Linked DNA regions of Homo sapiens: all the other regions are linked to region 4. Evidence: promoter capture Hi-C in human tissues and cell types (Jung and others, 2019). All regions are on one chromosome and are shown on one strand. The core of a region is centred on a gene start or on the middle of the fragment in contact, and the rest is flanking DNA. Distances in the headings are between cores, read along the strand shown.

Evidence for each region. The method cuts DNA at HindIII sites, captures the fragments that hold promoters and counts their contacts. A contact is called where the count stands out against the background at its distance.
Region 1: a fragment that was not itself captured here is called in contact with the fragment with the promoter of GAK in region 4 in 1 of the 25 tissues and cell types used here (spleen).
Region 2: a contact is called between a fragment that was not itself captured here and the fragment with the promoter of GAK in region 4, in 1 of the 25 tissues and cell types used here (dorsolateral prefrontal cortex).
Region 3: a contact is called between a fragment that was not itself captured here and the fragment with the promoter of GAK in region 4, in 1 of the 25 tissues and cell types used here (spleen).

Annotation. Positions count from the first base shown.
Region 1 is chr4:2,248,072-2,251,429 of GRCh38, forward strand. It overlaps MXD4 (MAX dimerization protein 4), which reads right to left. Exons shown (of 6, transcript NM_006454.3): 5 at 3,013-3,175; 6 at 1-2,630. The coding sequence ends at 2,473. MIR4800 (microRNA 4800) reads right to left here and starts at 2,085; the gene lies at 2,006-2,085. The HindIII fragment of the contact is 7,274 bases long and covers 1-3,358 here.
Region 2 is chr4:1,958,157-1,961,275 of GRCh38, forward strand. It overlaps NSD2 (nuclear receptor binding SET domain protein 2), which reads left to right. Exons shown (of 22, transcript NM_001042424.3): 17 at 1,315-1,584; 18 at 2,879-2,995. Among named protein-coding and RNA genes, the nearest start is that of MIR943, 27 kb to the right of the region's middle. The HindIII fragment of the contact is 4,522 bases long and covers 1-3,119 here.
Region 3 is chr4:1,933,942-1,937,094 of GRCh38, forward strand. NSD2 (nuclear receptor binding SET domain protein 2) reads left to right here. Exons shown (of 22, transcript NM_001042424.3): 7 at 1,203-1,321. Among named protein-coding and RNA genes, the nearest start is that of MIR943, 51 kb to the right of the region's middle. The HindIII fragment of the contact is 3,686 bases long and covers 1-3,153 here.
Region 4 is chr4:930,769-933,939 of GRCh38, forward strand. It overlaps GAK (cyclin G associated kinase), which reads right to left and starts at 1,548. Exons shown (of 28, transcript NM_005255.4): 1 at 1,275-1,548. The coding sequence starts at 1,419. TMEM175 (transmembrane protein 175) reads left to right here and starts at 1,692. Exons shown (of 11, transcript NM_032326.4): 1 at 1,692-1,772. RefSeq lists a silencer at 1,334-1,653 and an enhancer at 1,814-2,133. The HindIII fragment of the contact is 8,506 bases long and covers 1-3,171 here.

The DNA.
Region 1 (3,358 bases), core at 859-3,358, 1.3 Mb after region 4:
TGGCCTCTTGGTCCCTGCAGCCTCCAGTGATGGCAGCCTGGGCCCCTGACAGGGAGCAGTGGGAGGTTGGAGCATGTGGTGACTCCTAGCACGGGCCCCCACCCAGTGGGCAACCCCTCACCCACCTGCTGATGGCAGGGAGGGGCAGCTGAACAGCACCCCGGGTGGCTGAGACTGCCTCCCAGTCCACGTGGGAACCACGGCCTCAAGAGCCACAGGCTGAGCTGCCGGGAGGGTGGGCTGAGGGGCCACCACTGGTCACCGGGTGGATTCTGCTGGTCAGAGATGAGAGCAGAAGCCCCTAGCTGCCTCAGGCACTGGAGGGTGGGGCAGGGAGCTGGTGCTTCAAGAATTGAGGGCAGGGACACGACCACCTCAGGGCCCTGCAGTGCTGGCTGGGGAAGCAAGCTTTTACACACGGCCCGCCTTGCTCGGAGGTGCCACGGTGTTTGAAATGAAGCCTGGGGGGACAGACTCAGGCAGGCAGGGGAAGCTCCTTTCTGGGCACCCCTGGACCCCAGTGGGGCCGGAAGGAGATGCAGACAGGCCTCCTCACAACCACCCGCAACGCGTTCGGATGCCCCTCAGCTCCAGGCACCATGCCCCCTACAGCCTGCAGGGCAGGTTCTGTGCCAGAGTTGTTTCCAGGGACCCCCTTCCGCCACAGTGGGCCCCCCATCCTGGGGCGTCTATGCGTACGACTGAAAATAGACACGAATTTTCCCCATGATATGGGAATTGGCTACAGATGTACCAGAGGCACGGCAGGCACTGCTATGGGCCAGCCCCAAGGACAGAGGACGTCAGGAAGGAAAGGCGGGTGCAAGCCTCCTGGTGCCAGGCCTGCACCACCCAGCGAGCACAGTCTTCATTGGCTGCCAGTGTCTGAAACCTGGAACCCTCGCCTAGGCCAGGAAGCAGGGGGCTCGAGTCAGGTGACAGGTGAGAATCCATCTCTCTAGTGAGCAAGCAGGCCCCTGCCAGCCACTGGGGAGGGCAACACTGGGGACCAGGTCACAGCCCCTCCGTGCCACCCACAGGGGCCTGGCTGCATCGCCTCCAGGAAGCCCTGGCTGCCGGGAGGGGCTGCCCACAGGAGATGGGAGGACAGCACTAGCTGGGCAGGCCTGGGGCACCCTGAGCCACGAGGGACATGCTGGTGGGAAGGGCAAGGCCTGACACAAGACACAAGGCACACTTTGACGACGTGACGGAGGGACAGGTCCCTGAGACGCTGGGTGGCTCCCACCCCTCAGCAAACAAGGACGCAACAACAGCTAGGAAAATAGAATACAAAAATCTGGTACAGGAAACAGAGGCGGCACACACGGACGTCCCTAGGCCGAGAGTCTTTAGGCTTTCTTCTTTTTAAAAATGGTTTTTTTTTTTTTTCTGGGAAAGCCTCTCTGCCAGCTGAAGCTGCCGCAGCAGAGCTCATGAGAAGCCCTTTCCTAAGGTGGCTCCAGGAGCCCTAACCGGGCTGCTGGGCAGTGCAGCATTTTACTTTTTTGCTTTTTGTTTAAAAAAGGGAGATGAGTAAGCCCCCGAGGACCCAGCGGCTGCAACTTAACCAGCCTCCAGTTCACCCCAGCCCCAGCCAGGAAGAGAAGCCCCTCTCCTGTGCAGACAGGCAGGACTACTGGGTGGGCGTGGGTGAGCAGGAGCTAGAGGGGGATCCAGGCACAGCCCAGGGGCTGTTTGCCAGATGACCCCTGAAGGCCATCATCCCCAGAACATGTGACCTCGGGACGCCCAGGTGTGTCTGCATGTGTGAGCATGTACATGAGTGGGTGTGTCTAGGTGCGTGCGCGTGTGCGTCTGACAGTCCTACCAGAGCAGACGCTGCCCAGCTCGGCGTGGGCTGGGCTGGCCTGCCTGGCCCCGAGAGCCCAGCCCTAGGTTCTGACACCTGCGAAGTGGGAAGGACCTTAACCACCCACCTGCCCCAGGTGCTCACCCAGTTCCCGCCCTTCACAGACCCCTTGTCCACGCCAGGAGCCTATGTGGACTGACAGGTAGGTGGACAGACGGACGGATGGACAGACAGCCTTGCCTTCCTTCCTTCCTCGGTCCACTCCTTTCTCCTGGGATCCAGGGTTGGGGTCTGAGCTCCCTGTGGTGGTCATTAAGCCCCTCACACGGCACCTGCCGAGGTTTGCAGCAATGACGTTTAATACTTCTGGAATGATTAGGAATCTGAGAACAGACCGTGGGCGGCTATGCTGACCAGGGCTCCGGATGTGGAAGCTGGGCCCTGCCTCCTTGCAGGGGACTCTGCCCAGCTGGAAGGGGCAGGCAGCTCGGCAGGCCCTGACCGGCAAGCGGGCAGTGCCAGGCAGCCCAGCAGCAGCTGGAGCTTCCAGAATGGCACAGCAGTGGGCCTGTGGAGAGGCTGGCGTCAACTGAAGGAGAACTGGAGGGCTGACACGCGTGGCTGGCGGGCAGGCAGGCCAAGGAGCAGAGGGCACGGGCCTACGAGAGGGCGGGGCGGCCCAGCCGCCGGCAGTGGGGCCCGAAGCCACTGTCGCCGCCGGTGCCACTCTGCAGGCTGTAGTGGTCGTCCGCGTCACTGCTGCTGCCAACACTGTCCAGCTCACCAGGGCCAAACTCCATGCCCTCTATGTCCACTTCTAGGGAGAATAGAGTGGGGATGGGGTCAGGCCACTCTGAGGGTGCCAGCCCATTTCTCCCTTTTCTGGAAGCAGAAGCTCTAGGCAGAGGGGCAGAAGTGCGGAGGGCGCTGTCTGGGCCCTGGGGCAGCAGACGCCAGGAGGGCTCTGGCTGAGAACCCGGCCTCAGAAGCACCAGTCCTCAGCGGGCCACACAGCCTCTGCATCCCACCCTCCCTGTCCAGTCCCTTCTGCGCTTAGTGACAAACACACACCCCAGTGCAGCAGGGAGCTGGGAGGGTTCTCCCCAGCCCCAGCACCAGGCACCTCCTCTCCACCCAGGGAGCTGCACCACTGCGCACCCGGAGGCCCAGGTGAGGCTGCCCCGCGCCCCACGCCCCACCTTGCTCTGAGTCGTCCGTGGAGACAGCAGAGCCCGTGCTATCTGTGCGCACGCGCTCCACGCTCTGCACCGACAGCTGCTCCAGGCGCCGCTTCAGGAAACGATGCTCCTGCTGCAGCTGCTCCTTGATGCTCAGTGCCCGGCGGTCCTGCTCCTCCAGTTTCTGGGGTCGAGGGGGGCTGTGAGCTCACAGCGGGAAGAGGAGTCCCCCCATCCCCCTGGCCAGGCACTGGGGCACCCAGGCCTGGGCCCGGGAGGTTCCCCATCCCTGCCAAGACCTAGCCAAGGCTACAGGCCACAGGGTGCCCAGTCTCTGCCAGCCCCACAGCCTGAGGTGGGTCCCTCC
Region 2 (3,119 bases), core at 291-2,790, 1.0 Mb after region 4:
TGCCTGGCATGGATGGCCACACAAGAGACCATGAGCAAATGGCATGGGGGGATCTGCATGGGGGTTCTTGGATCCGCCTTGGAGTGTGAGGCTTGGCTTGGTAGCTTAGAGAAGGGTTGGGGTGACAGTCCTGACCGGGCTGCTTGGAGCAGGAGGAGCTGAGGGATGAGCCTCCCACCTGCACCAGGCTGTTGCCAAGTGCTGGGAGTCAGTCACATACGGCCAGGGCTCAGTGACTGAGCCCCAAACACGTAGATCCTGTACCTCAGAGAGCAAGATGGCGGGGCGGCAGGGGAGCTTGCCAGTTCTGTGTTTATTCCAGTGAGCTCGAGAGCCCCAGCAGGAGGAAGTGCAGCCAGGGCAGGGCTCTGTGAGAGCTCCAGGCCCCTCAGGGCTGCCTGCGCTCAGAGCTGGTGCGGCAAGCCGCATCCCCAGGAGCCTCGTGGCCGTTCCTGACGAGTGTTTGTGATAAGTGTGTGCCGGAGGTCAGGTGCTCTGCCTTTGCTTGTAAAATGTGGGCTGCAGTCAATATCTTTGTATGTAAAGAAAGTGCTCTGTATTCATCTTTATATAATATTTTCTTTGGGATGGATTCCCAGAAACAGAATCACAGGGTCAGAGAGTATGAAATGTTTAGATTCTTGGGGAATATTCCCAGATTGTTCTCCAAAATGTACAGTTTGTCATACCACAGCAGTGAAAAGAGTGTCTTTCGCCACCTCTTCCCTAAGATTATGCATTTCTACCCCAGCTGATTTTCAGCTGTCTCTACTGCTTTGTTATTTGGTTGCTTGTCTTTCACTAATAGTAAACCACAAGGTCATGAGAGCAGAGGCTATGCCCTCCTGCCTAGCACTGCTCCTCCTGGGGTGGACTCCCATGTGGCTTGCTGCTGGTGCTTGGTAAAGGAAGAGTCAGAGAGATGGGTCGGGAAGCTGCTCAGAAGAGCTCTTACCAGCGTTTGCTGGACACCCTGCAGTGTACTAAGCAATCAACACGCTTTTTCTCTCTTCATCTTACAATGGCCTGGCTGGATACGTGTCAGCTCTTGTTCATCAGCGATGTGCACAGACACTAAGATAAAATAATGTGAGGGGGCGTTGTGTTGCCCTGCCTGCCTCTTGTGCTAAGAAGGCAGAGGAGAGCTCCTCTGGGATCTGGGGAGGGCTGTTCTGAGTAGTGTGTCCTAGCCAGGACTCTGAAGCTTTCTAAAAGGCCACCTGGAGGCTGGGTAAGGAGAGGCAGTGGTGGGTGTGCAAGGGTATTCGGAAGGCTCTCATGTGTGGACCAAGACAGCTTACTCCTTCCCTGCAGGTGAATAAGCCTTACGGGAAAGTCCAGATCTACACAGCGGATATTTCAGAAATCCCTAAGTGCAACTGCAAGCCCACAGATGAGAATCCTTGTGGCTTTGATTCGGAGTGTCTGAACAGGATGCTGATGTTTGAGTGCCACCCGCAGGTGTGTCCCGCGGGCGAGTTCTGCCAGAACCAGTGCTTCACCAAGCGCCAGTACCCAGAGACCAAGATCATCAAGACAGATGGCAAAGGGTGGGGCCTGGTCGCCAAGAGGGACATCAGAAAGGTATGTGTCGTTATCCCCTCCCCTGCTTTTGAGAAATTACGGTTCACTGGGTAATTAGGCCTAGGTTTGCTTGTGGTGGTTTTGTAGTCATGTGAGAATGGTATTTTTTGGAAAAAAAATTTTTTTTGTTTTTGTTTTGAGACAGGGTCTCACTCTGTCATCTAGGCTGGAGGGCAGTGGCATGATTGTAGTTCACTGCAGCCTCAGAATCCTGGGCTCAAGCCATCCTCCCACCTTAGCTTCCCAAGCAGCTGGGACTACAGGCGTGTTTGACCATGCCCTAATAATTTTATTTTTTTTTGGAGATGGGGTCTTGCTGTGTTGCCCAGGCTCATTTCGAACTCCTGGCCCCAAACCATCCTCCTGCCTAGGCCTCCCAAAGCAATGGGATTTTAGGCAAGAGCCTCTGTGCCTGACCTGAAATATTTTTTTGAATTGAATTATTACAATTGAATATTTTAAAATGTTACATGAAAGGTATCTGCTATAACTCACACATTCCCTTAAAACATGCCTTATGTCAGAATTCTGATGGTTATTTTTATGAAATGGAAGATCTGTGAAGTGACCCACTTTCCTCTGGGCTAGTAGCCAGGTGCTTGGGAGCACTCACCAGCAGGCGTAAGGAGATTGCTCTTGTGAGGGGTGGTCCTGGCACAGTCTAGGACCAAGTCGTTGGTAGACACCAGGACAGTTGACCTCCTGCCTCTGCTCCCAGACTGTGTCCCAAGGACATCCAGGGACTGAGAGACATGTAGAACTGCTGACCCTGATGTATTTTGGCATGACCCAGGTCCATACCAGGGCTGACCCAGCACAGAGAGTTCATAAGCCTGGTGCCAGTTCCAGCAACAGCACAAAAGGTTGCTTAGAAACACCTCCCCAGCACCCTTGTTCCTCGCCTGCCTGACTGCTGATTCACCCAGACTCTTGCTTTACATCCTGTCAGATACTTTGTAGCCATTTTCTCTGTTGTGGGGATCACCGTGTAAAGTGGGTTATGTAGAAGCTTGGTTATCAGACAGCGCTCCTGAGACAAGGTCGTGTAGGAAGCAAGGGTTGGCATATTGCCACTTCGTGAATACTTAATACATTTTTCATTGGCAACCTTTACATACAGATATGTCTGAGATCCTTTGAATTTAATTTATGGAGACTTTGTACACGCCCTCCACGGAGGTATGCTGATGTGTGTGGTGCCCGTTCTAAGTGATCATGATGGGGAGTCTTGAGCCCCGACACTGAGGATTGGTCAGCACGCTTTTTGTCATGGCCACATGCTTGTGATTTCCAGGGAGAATTTGTTAACGAGTACGTTGGGGAGCTGATCGACGAGGAGGAGTGCATGGCGAGAATCAAGCACGCACACGAGAACGACATCACCCACTTCTACATGCTCACTATAGACAAGGTAATGCGGAACTCCACTGTGAGCTTCTGCAGTGTGCTGGACCTGGAGCCCTGATGGTCACCTGTAGAACTGGACTTTGCCCTGTGGCAGCGCCAGCATTTGTCTCCTTAGCTGCTTATTTTCA
Region 3 (3,153 bases), core at 258-2,757, 1.0 Mb after region 4:
GCCCTTAATTTGCATATATAAATGTTGTGTTACTACTTAACATGTTTAAGGAAATGTTTAAAAAGTAGCAAGTTGTTTTTTTTTTTAAGTTCAACTTAAATTCCACAAGTCTTTGAATGTTAGTAAGGAAAAGATTTTTTTTTTGTTTTTCGTTTTTTTTTTAGACAGAGTTTCGTTCTTGTTGCCCAGGCTGGAGTGCAATGGCACAATCTCGGCTCACTGCAACCTCCACCTCCTGGGTTCAAGCGATTCTTCTGCCTCAGCCTCCTGTGTAGCTGAGATTACAGACATGTGCCACCATGCCTGGCTAATTTTGTATTTTTAGTAGAGATGGGGTTCCTCCATGTTGGTCAGGCTGGTCTCAAACTCCCGACCTCAGGTGATCCGCCCACCTCAGCCTCCCAAAGTATTGGGATTACAGGCATGAGCCACCATGCCCGGCCTAGGAAAAGATTTTTTTAAAATACTGGGCTATCAGGAGGCAGAGGTTGCAGTGAGCTGAGATTGTGCCATTACACTCCAGCCTGAGCTACAAGAGCGAAACTCCATCTCAAAAATAAATAAATAGATAAAATACTGGGTTATATTTAAATTTAATGCTTTAATACATTAAATTATAATTATAAGGCCAGGCGCGGTGGCTCACGCCTGTAATCCCAGCACTTTGGGAGGCCGAGGCAGGCGGATCACGAGGACAGGAGTTCGAGACCAGCCTGACCAACATGGTGAAAACCCATCTTTACTAAAAATATAAAAATTAGCTGGGCGTGGTGGCACGTGCCTGTAATCCCAGCTACTCAGGAGGCTGAGGCAGGAGGATGGCTTGAACCCACGAGGCGGAGGTTGCAGTGAGCTGAGATTGTGCCACTGCCCTCCAGCCTGGGTGACAGAGCGAGACTCCATCTTAAAAAAAAAAAAAAAAAAAAAAAAAAAAAAAATATATATATATATATATATATATATATATAAAAAACAGATAAAACAGATGCTAATATAATCCCTAAGGTTAGATATAGTCACCAGTTTTTTTGTTGTAAAGAGATTTGATCTGTAAGACATAAGCCCTGGAAATCAGCAGGGTTACAGGAAACCCATCATGGGCTGGATCTGTATGTTGAATGCCCTGGGTAGGTTCTCACAGTGCTTCAAATGCAGCTTTTGGAGTGGTTTTCATGTACATTTTCCCCATTCCCCATTCCAAGGTAATGTAAATGGGAAAAAAAGAAACCACACAAAGAGGATACAGGACCCTACAGAAGATGCTGAAGCTGAGGACACACCCAGGAAAAGACTCAGGACGGACAAGCACAGTCTTCGGAAGGTAATTGTGTTCCAGGTTTGCTTGACCTGTCAGAGTGTATGCTCTGTGACTCTTGGTGCCACTGTTTCCCTGCATGGGAGCACACATGAGATGCAGGTGTCAGTGCACCCAGCTCCTTCCAGGCTGGTATTCAGCAGAAGGCTTGCATTTCTTACAGAACCCCATTGAGAAAGGCTGCTTGCAGGTTCTTACCCTCCAGGGGTGTTATCACAGAAACCGATGGTGTGTTGCTCTGCAAGAAAACAGACATCCAAATGCTTTGAGTAATACTTGTTTTTTAGATTGGACAAAATTGTCACTAAAAATAACCTCTTTGGCCGGGTGTGGTGGCTTACGTCTCTAATCCCAGCACTTTGGGAGGCCGAGGCAGGTGGATTGCTTGAGGTCAGGAGTTCGAGACCAGCCTGGCCAAGATGGTAATACCCCGTCTCTACTAAAAATACAAAAAATTAGCTGGGCATGGTGGCGTGCACCTGTAATCCCAGCTACTCAAGAGGCTGAGGCAGGAGAATTGCTTGAACCTGACAGGCAGAGGTTGCTGTGAGCTGAGATCATGCCACTGCACTCCAGCCTGGGCGACACAGCAAGATTCTGTCTCAAAAAAAAACAAACAAAAAAACCCCCAAACACCATAACCTCTCTATAGGGCTTATTATTCAGGATGTAAGTAATGAACTGGCATCAAAGTCCATTAGAGATATGTGTTACATGTCAATAAAAAGTCAACAGTTCATTAAAGGCAATGAACCTAGATTTTATTTAGTTTATTAGTAATTCATGTTATTGTTTACTGAATGGGAATACTAAACAGGCTGTGCAGGAAAAGTGCAGCATAGATACAAAGCCAGCCCCGGGTCCTTGTGCTCCTCGCTTACTGCCAGCATGTGTCCAGGGACAGAGTTTGCCTGGTACCTGCAGGGGAGTGAAACCAACCAAGGAAACACCGGGTTATTCTGTCTAGCGTATGGTGCCCATGCATGTAGAAGACGTGAGCCCTTTTCCTAGTGTATGAAGTGGTGCCATTCATTTCAACTGTCTCAGATGTCCGGTTAACTTTTTCATGAACTGAGACTTTAATTAGACTTTGTACTTTGTTTGAATTTCTATTTTATTCGATAATAGTTCTGGCCGGGTGTGGTAGCTCACACCTGTAATCCCAGCACTTTGGGAGGCTGAGGCAGGTGGATCACCTGAGGTCAGGAGATCAAGACCAGTCTGGCCAACATGGTGAAACCCCATCTCTACTAATAATACAAAAATTAGTCGGGTGTGGTGGTGCATGCCTGTAATCTCAGCTACTCGGGATGAGGCAGGAGAATCACTTGAACCTGGGAGGCGGAGGTTGCAGTGAGCTGAGATTGCGCCACTGCACTCCAGCCTGGGTGACAGAAGGAGACTCCATCTCAAAAAAAAAAAAAAAAAAAAAAGTTCTGACAGAGTAGTTGTATATTTGTGATTTTGAGTAAAGCTTCATCCTGTTTTTCACTGATCTGAGTTAAAATGCTCTTTTTATTTCAAAGAATGGAAAATACATCTCACATATTGCTAAGGTGTAAATATGTGGACACCATATCATTTACCTTATTTCTTTAAACTTGTATTTGTAGTTGAGAGGAGCAGGCAGGCCCTGCGCCATTTTTCTGGCCCACAGAACATTCTTCTGGGGCACCTGCCATAGGTGAGGTTGTTGAGTGATCAAGTGTTCAGCAGTAAGCTAGGTCAGATTCACCTGTAGTCACTAAGGTTTGTAGTTACCAGGAAGCCTGCACTTAACATTTGCTCTGGTCACCTAATTTTTTTTTTTTTTGAGAGGGAGTCTCACTTCGTCACCC
Region 4 (3,171 bases), core at 298-2,797:
TGACCAAATCATACCCAAAATCTGTTTGGTTTTGACCACAATGGAGACAAAGTGTGTGATAATGCTACAGTCAAAATGTCTCCGCAGGCCTTTTGTGATAATCAGAATTCTGGGATAGTCTCCTGTCTGGTCACAGAGCAGGCACCTGGACAGGCTAACCCTCCAGCCCTGAGAGGTACCAGGGAGCTGGTGAGGGTGAGGGCTTTTGTGTCGCTTCACTCCCTCTCCCTGTGCCAATACAGCAGAATAGAGTTACGCTTCCGCACCCAAGTCAACTGTGTTTAGCCCATAAACTTCACAGCCAGTGAAATATGACACACCTCCAGGCACCACTGGACAAAAAATGTAAGGAAAATCCACAAGAGAGAATGGGACCCACTGGCACTGGTGATCGATTCCGTGTGAACGGAGAGGACATCCAGGGAGCTAGAAATAGCATGCAGAGACAAAACTGACTCAAGACTGACTCAAGAGGACTTAAGCCGAGTGACCTGTCCACTCTGCAAGTTCTATATAGGTCACAACCACTGGCTCTGCTTCCTGTACTACACACGGAATCACACGAGTAGATGTTCACCGGGAAGAGAAACACTGAGGTGTTGAAAGACGAAGGGGGATCACGAGACACAGCCCAGTCTACCCTCGGCCAACCCCCCCACCCCCCAGGCTACAACCGCAACTACCTGCAACACGTGTGCACCCACCAACTCTCAAGTTCCCTGGACTGTAGAAGAACCAGCCCTAACCTCCAAAGTCCAGTCCTGTCCCTGCCTGCTCAATAACCCCAGATGTCCGGCAAAAGGCCAAGGCTTAAACCCACCTCCTGCACCGCTCACCTCCTGACTCCAGCTGTCGGCCTTCTAGGCACCGTCCCTCAGTCTCCGCTGTGGGTCCCCACCCAAGCTCCCTGCCTGCCACCATCCCCCACCTCACCGTAACATCTTCCCCCACCCACCCTGAGGGGGTTCCCCAAGCCCCAGGCCTTGCTCCGACTTGACCCTACTCTTATGACAAGAAAGTACCCCGACCCGGTCCCAGCCTCGCCCTCCGCAATCACCGCCAGCAGGCACTCACCTACGCCCGCGCTATGACCTTCGCCTGGCCCTGACCCACGCCCTCGGCAGAGACCCTCCCCTGGCCGACCCTGACCCACGATCCCGCTGGGACCCTCCCCAGCCCTAACCCACGCCCTTCCACTCCGGGCTGACGCTGCCCCCAGCGTCCCGGAGACAACACTCCGCGGCCGCACCCGCGCTGCCGACCCGGGGCCTCACCTTCGGCCAGGACCCGCCGCACCCGCAGCCGCAGCTCGCCCAGTTCCACCGTCTGCCCCACGAAGTCACTCTGGTCGCGGCCGGAAGCACCGCCCAGGGAGCCTGGACCCGCCAAGAAGTCGAGCGCCGACTGCAGCAGCGACATGGCGGTGGCTGCGCCGCACCCCGCGGCAGCCGGAGTGGTCGGGCTCGGGCTCCCGCTCCCTCGCCGTCCGGGTCAGCTCAGCAACCGCCGGCCCGGAGGTGCACCATCTTCCGCCTCGACGCCGTGACGTAGGCGCCCGTGAGGACGCGTCGCGTCAGGCGGCGACCCGGCCTAGCCCCGTCCCCTCCGCCGCGGCCTCACTTCCTGGCTGCGCGCGCAGGCGCGGAGGTCTGACGGAGACAGCGCGTGCGCGGCGTCGCCGGGCTTGCGATGAACTTCCGGCTGTCAAGCTCCCGGCCGGGCTGACTCAAGCGGAGGCGCGCGGAACAGTCGCCGAGGCGATTCCCGCCCAGGTAGTTCAGCGCCCCAGTCCAGCTCCCGGTACCGTTCCCCACATGGTCTGTTTTGTGGGAGGCTCCTTCTCAGGTGTCTCCGGTTTAAGCGCTTCGCCATCCTCTGGGTGGAGTCAGCCTCCCGTTTGCTGTTAGCGCCGCGTTTGCGAATGGGTTCGCGAATTTTTCTCTCAGTTGGCTAAGGAGCAAGGAGTTAGCGTGCGTTAAGCTTTCAGTAAATACTTGGTTTTCGTCTCATGGAGGTCGGAGTTTCCTGTGACGCTTAGTGAGTAAGGTTGGCAGCCCCCTCCCAGCAGCCAGGCAGGCAGTTTGCAGGGGAAACGCTGCTGCATTGCTCTGTCTTCCGAGGAGAGGGCCAGGGTCTGGCCTGGGGCAGTGACCAGTAGTGGGAGCCGTGGGCTAGAAAAACCTTCGTCCTGGGCAACCACAACACTGCAGAGACTGCCCTGTGACCCTCAAGGTTCGTTCTCACCCTGACATTTTCCAAGGCAAAAGCAAATCCTCATGAACCACTTGGAAGGGTTCGTAATGCCCAACTATTTGGAGATGAAATGGTGACTTTCCTTATAGGATAATAAGGAAATGGCTCACAGACAATGCATTTTTAGTTTTTGGCCCACACAGTATTTGGGGGTTGGGAGTGGGTAGCAGGAGGTGAATTAGTTGCTATCATTTAAAGACTGATGCCAGGCGCGGTGGCTTACACCTGTAATCCCAGTGCTTTGGGAGGCCGAGGCAGGCGGATCACCTGAGGTCAGGAGTTCCAGACCAGCCTGGTCAACATGGTGAAACCCCGTCTCTACTAAAAATACAAAAATTAGCCGAGCGTGGTGGCGGGTGCCTGTAATCCCAGCTACTCGGGAGGCTGAGGCAGGAGAATCGCTTGAACCCGGGAGGCGGGCGCCACTGTACCCTAGCCTGAGACTCCGCCTCAAAAAATAAATAATAATAATAATAATAATTGAAAGGCCTAAATGTTAAAAACCTAGTTTTCCAGCTTCTGTGGAAAAATCAAACCTGTCAATATTGGACCCAAAATGATGTGTGTTACCAATTACCTAGAGTGGTCCCTTGAGGTAAGACACAGTCATTTGCCTGACCAGATGGGCTCATGTATGTTACCTGCCTGGTTCCTATAGTCATTTAAGGTTGCAACCCCTTCAACAGAGTTATTTGTTCTCCAACTCAAAAATGGATTCTAAAGCTCACATCAGCCTCTTAGCCGTCCCAGAAGCTAACATCTGTTATCTTTATCATTAAAAGATAATAGCCTCAGCTCGTTGGAACACTTATCTATGTTATGGAATGAAGTATTGCATGAAGCCAAATGACATCTTTAAAAATATATATAACAAAAATAACAGTAGCAATAGCTTAGTTTAGGCACTGATTTATTGCT